Linked DNA regions of Homo sapiens: region 1 is linked to region 2. Evidence: promoter capture Hi-C in human tissues and cell types (Jung and others, 2019). All regions are on one chromosome and are shown on one strand. The core of a region is centred on a gene start or on the middle of the fragment in contact, and the rest is flanking DNA. Distances in the headings are between cores, read along the strand shown.

The links. The method cuts DNA at HindIII sites, captures the fragments that hold promoters and counts their contacts. A contact is called where the count stands out against the background at its distance.
Region 1: a fragment that was not itself captured here is called in contact with the fragment with the promoter of FUNDC1 in region 2 in 1 of the 25 tissues and cell types used here (stomach).

Annotation. Positions count from the first base shown.
Region 1 is chrX:44,378,518-44,381,217 of GRCh38, reverse strand. No RefSeq gene overlaps it. Among named protein-coding and RNA genes, the nearest start is that of EFHC2, 36 kb to the right of the region's middle. The HindIII fragment of the contact is 3,616 bases long and covers 1-2,700 here.
Region 2 is chrX:44,541,431-44,544,130 of GRCh38, reverse strand. It overlaps FUNDC1 (FUN14 domain containing 1), which reads left to right and starts at 1,272. Exons shown (of 5, transcript NM_173794.4): 1 at 1,272-1,326; 2 at 2,030-2,186. The coding sequence starts at 1,299. RefSeq lists enhancers at 888-947, 958-1,007, 1,188-1,577. The HindIII fragment of the contact is 19,174 bases long and covers 1-2,700 here.

The DNA.
Region 1 (2,700 bases), core at 134-2,633, 160 kb after region 2:
GCTGGAGTGTAGTGGTACAATCACGGCTCACTGCAGCCTCCATCTCCCAGATTCAAGTGATCCTCCCACCTCAGCCTCCTGAGTACTTGGGACTGTAGGTACATGTCACTGTGCTTGGCTAATTTTTAAATTTTTTTATTATGTAGAGACAAGGTCTCACTATGTTGTCCAGGCTGGTCTTGAACTGGGCTCAAGTGATCTTCCTGCCTCAGCTTTCCAAGGTGCTGGGATTATCAGCATAAGCCACGGTGCCGGGCCTCTCTGTTTTGAATACAGCTTAAAATGCGGACTTAAATTACGAATAAGTAATTCTTAGTCACAACAGGTCAGGCCCACATAATCCCCCACTGGGATTAGCCAGCATCTTCCCAAATGGACTCAATGTCTTCCATTCCAACCCCCTTTAGTGTGTCCCAAGAGATATTTCTTCCTAACATAAACCTCAACACATCTCTTTCTTGCTTAAAATTCTTCCGGGATTAAACATTGCCTACAGGACAATATCAAAATTCGCAAGCATAGTTTCCAAGTCCCTACACAATCTGGCCTCTGACAATGTTTTCAGTTTTACCTCCTGCCACTTGCCCTACCCTTTGGCAAGCTAAGTTAGTGACAATTCCTTGAATATGCCATTTGTTTTCATTCTTTGGGTCGCTGTACATGTGGAATATTGGGGTTTCTCTGATGAATTCCTACTTATCTTTCTAAACTGAATTCATGTATCTGAAACCTTTTCTGATCCACTTAAACTCTATCTCCTCTACTTACTCCATGTCCTGTATACCTGGTGCTTTAGACATTTGTGTTTTTTTAACCTGTTTTATTTTTATTTTGTTGTTGTTGTTGTTTTGTTTTGTTTTGAGACGGAGTCTCACTCTGTCGCCCAGGCTGGAGTCTAATGGTGCGATCTTGGCTCATTGCAACCTCTGCCTCCTGGGTTCAAGCCATACTCCTGCTTCAGCCTCCTGAGTAGCTGGGATTACAGGCTCTCGCAGCCACTCCCAGCTAATTTTTTTATATTTTTAGTAGAGACAGGGTTTCACCATGTTGGCCAGGCTGGTCTCGAACTCCTGACCTCAGGTGATCCACCCACCTCGGCCTCCCAAAGTGCTGGGATTACAGGTGTGAGCCACTGTGCCCAGCCTTTTTAACCTGTTTAATTGTCCTATTAGACTTTTAACTCCTTGAGCACAGTGACTTTGTTTTCTTTAATATTTGTATCTCCAATACCCAGAAGGCATATGATAGACATTAAATAAATGTTTAGTCCACGAATAAATAAAAAATGAATACATAGTCAATTTAAATAAATTTGGGGAAGATAAGGATTTGAAGAAGAGCATGTGCAAGAGAGTCATTATTTGAAATAATCTCCCAGGAGTAAAAGTTGAAGGCCATTGATCTGCAAGATTTGGGCACCAGATGATATAGAAGAATTCTCAGGAAGTAAGAGCCTTATTTGAATAAGATGTGATTATGATTGATTTCAAATATTTCTTTGCCTTGGAAGCTTTGACTTTGCTTTATATAGGATTGTATGTTACAGACACATCAACTACACAGCAAAGAAAAAAAGAGGTAAAAATCAGACCCATACGCAAACTCAGTACTAAAAATGTAGTTGCAATTCCACACACAACAGATGAGGTGTGGACTTAAAAAAAAAAAGTGACTGAAGTGAAGAAGAAATGTTGCCCAGAGGTGTATTTTTATTTTTGTTATTTTACTAAGTACCTGCATATAAAAATTGATATTAAAAGCAGCTGAAGCAAATTCTAATGGGTGGGGAATGATTTTAAAACAGAAACAGTGGGCCACTGCACTTTCTTGTAATTACTCATCTGGGTAAGGGCTTCAAAATGTATTAGCCATAAAGGAAAGACTTCAGACAGACATCTGCAACCCAAAATGCTTAGGCTGTTTCAATTATGATGACTATTTTAAGTATTCACTCACTCACTCTCTCTCTCCCTTTTTTTTTTTTTTTTTTTTTGAGATGGAGTCTTGCTCTGTCACCCAGGCTGGAGTGTGGTGGCGTGATCTCACCTCACTGCAACCTTCACCTCCCAGGATCAGTCGCTTCTCCTGCCTCAGCCTCCCAAGTAGCTGGGATTACAGGCACCCGCCATCACACCTGGCTAATTTTTTCCTTTATATTTTTAGTAGAGATGGGGTTTCACCATGTTGGCGAGGGTGGTCTCGAACTCCTGACCTCAAATGATCCACCCACCTTGGCCTCCCAAAGTGCTGGGATTACACCGTTTCCGATCCTTCTTTCTCTCTCTCTCTCTCTCTCTCTCTCTCACACACACACACACACACACACACCCTCAAGGCCCAAATATATGTTGATTCATTTTACTAAAAGGCCTTTGCTTTAGATCTTAAGAGATGGGAATAATGACACAAGCCACGAGGAGAGAAAAAAAAGCACCCATGAGATAAACTGTTACCTCAGTGCAGTAAAGAGTTAACATAGAGTCCTAACTGCTTATCCTTAGAAAGGCTTGCTCACAAGGTTGGCTCTTAGCTGGTATCCCAGAACTTGAATTTCAGGAGGGTTCCCACCATTTCTAGAATTGGTAAGAGTGGCTCACTGTGCCTAAACTTCATGCAAGCAATGCGGTTTATGCTGAACATCTATCTGCTTTCCTTCTGGGAGTCTGGAATTTGGGTACCTGCCAGGCAAGGGGTACTTCC
Region 2 (2,700 bases), core at 23-2,522:
AGAAAAGTATGGCTTGAAACAGGGTTTCTCTTATCTTTTACAAGCCTTTTTCCTCAAGCATTTGAATTCTGGTAATGTTCAAAATACTGTTAAAAAATTATTCTGACAGTATGCAAGTGATGGGCCTGACAAAAAAATTATGGGACACTTCTTAAAATGGTAAGGAAGACTTTGTTCATGACTACTGCAATAGGTATCACAACTATTGCAATACAGCCTGGCATGGTGGCTCACATCTGTAATCCCAGCACTTTGGGAGGCAGAGGCAGGAAGACTGCTTGAGCCCAGAAGTTTAAGAGCAGCCTGGGCAACACAGGGAGACCTACTCTCCACAAAAAATAAAAATAAATTAGCCGGGAGTGGTGATGCACGCCTGGAGTCCTGGGTACTCTGGAGGCTGAGGTGGGCCGATCTCTTGGGCCCAGGAGTTTGAGGCTGCAGTGAGCCATGATAGCGCCACTGCACTCCAGCCTGGTGACAGAGCAATACCTTTTCTCATAAAACAAAGACTATGGCAATAGGGGTGAGTGATGGGTCTCAACTCTGAATACAGCAGGGAATTTATAGTAAATGATCAGAGTGAATGGATCAATGGGTGGAAGATTACCAAGAGTAGACATGAAGGGTAGGGGTATTCTTGCTAAAGCCAATTTAACAGGATTTTTGCTGGTGGCAGAGTGATCAGATATCAAGAGTGGGGTTGAGGAATTCGATCGGATATTGAGGGTGATTCGATATTAAGGGTGGGGGAGTTCTTACTAAACTGACTTAACTGCATTCTTACCACAAATGGACTAGGCAGGTCAAAGACGACCCAAGGAGGAGACCCAGTCAAAAACAGCTCAGAGGAGCCTCCTGACTAAAGTTTGGTCAAGGAGAGAGTCTTTGTCAATACCCAGCTGGTTCTCCCTTTGTACCACCATGTGGCGCCCTTCACCCCATTCCTTCAGCCCTTAAGGCTCTTTTAAAACAAAATAATCAAATTCAAGTTACGGAAATTCTAGGAGGGGCGGTCCCTCCCCCTTCCTAGTTGCGGAAGGCAACGGACTACAAGTCCCCTACGCTCTCGCGGGGCTATGATCCGCCCGGCCCTCCCCACATTCCGGAGTTTCGCGCCTGCGCAGAAGGCAGAAGGTCCTGCGCTGAGAGAAGGGGGCGGAGACAGGACTACGCGCCTGGAGTAGGAGAAGGAGGAAAAAAGAGACCATAGACTTCCATCCTGGCCTAGAGCGGCCCTTAAAGTGCCAGGGAGAGGAGGGCGGGTGGGGACCACTCCAGAATTGGCCGCTGGCGGTATCATGGCGACCCGGAACCCCCCTCCCCAAGGTGAGCGGCCAGGGCCCGAAGTGGTATCTGGGACGCGGCTCACAGCTCTCGACCTTGCTCCTATGGCACCTCTTCCTTCCCCTGCCCTAGGATTCTTCGAGCTCCATTTTTTTTTTAAGGCAGCCCCTTCGAGCACCCCCTCCGAGCTAGACTTTTTCCTCCCCTCTCTGCGGAACTCAAGCGGAGAGCCACCCCCACCCCCAGCACAGCCCTACCTGCCTCCTGCCTTACCTTCACCTCCGGCCCTTCATCTCCCATCTTCAAATGTATTATTTTCTTTTTTTAAACGTCTGGACTCAAGTGATTTCGCTGAGCTCCAGACTAGTTCTCTCAGGAGGACCCCTCCCCACCCCCATTCCTCCCACTGATGAAAATGGACCCTGCTCTGACCTTGACCCTACTAAGGTTTGGAGGTGGGGGTGACCCCTCACTACTGTGTCATTCTGAGTTGGCCCTGGCTTCGTGACCCCAGGCTGGTCCCCGGGCCTTTGGGAAAGCAGATGGGGGTCATTGTTGCAGGGTCCTTTACTCTTGAGGCCCTGGTCTCAAGAATTGAGTTAAATAAAGTCAGTAGTTTCTATGTGGGCATTTTTAGCTGTAGGCCAGAACTAATGAGTTGTAACAGATTTTTAAAAAGATGTATAGAACATTTCTGACTTTTGATTGACTCTACATTTATTTTTTGCATTTTGCTATTTTGAAGACTATGAAAGTGATGACGACTCTTATGAAGTGTTGGATTTAACTGAGTATGCAAGAAGACACCAGTGGTGGAATCGAGTGTTTGGCCACAGTTCGGGACCTATGGTAGAAAAATACTCAGTAGCTACCCAGATTGTAATGGGTGGCGTTACTGGCTGGTGAGAACAACGTCTTTTTCATTAAATTTCATTTGGGGGCCTGACACTGCTGTCCTTTCATACATGGGCAAGAATCACCGTGCACAGGCAGTAGGTCTACACTGTTAATTCCAGAAGAGGCTTTTCTCTGAGTTAAAATTGATGTAATCTACATTCCCAGGCTCCCTGTTGAGTTTTGGCGATCCCCTCCCCCATGCCCACCACTGTTCCTCTTCTCCCTCCTCATCCTTCTTTTGATTCTTTATATAATTTCCCCATTCTCATGTTCAGCAAATGTCGTGGATCTGATTCAGTGATAGTAGATAGGAAGAAATATATGAGTTAATTATATGTAAATTTTTACATTTCATTCAGTGCTAACTGCTGAAAAAACCTAAGAAACTCCCACGGTAGAACTGGCCTCTAGTATTGTCAGCCCTGTACAGAGCAGTGTAAAATGCTCAGTATGAATTATTGGTGATGATACAGATGATTCTGTTTTTTGTGGGCTCGTTCAGATTATGATAACTCTTTG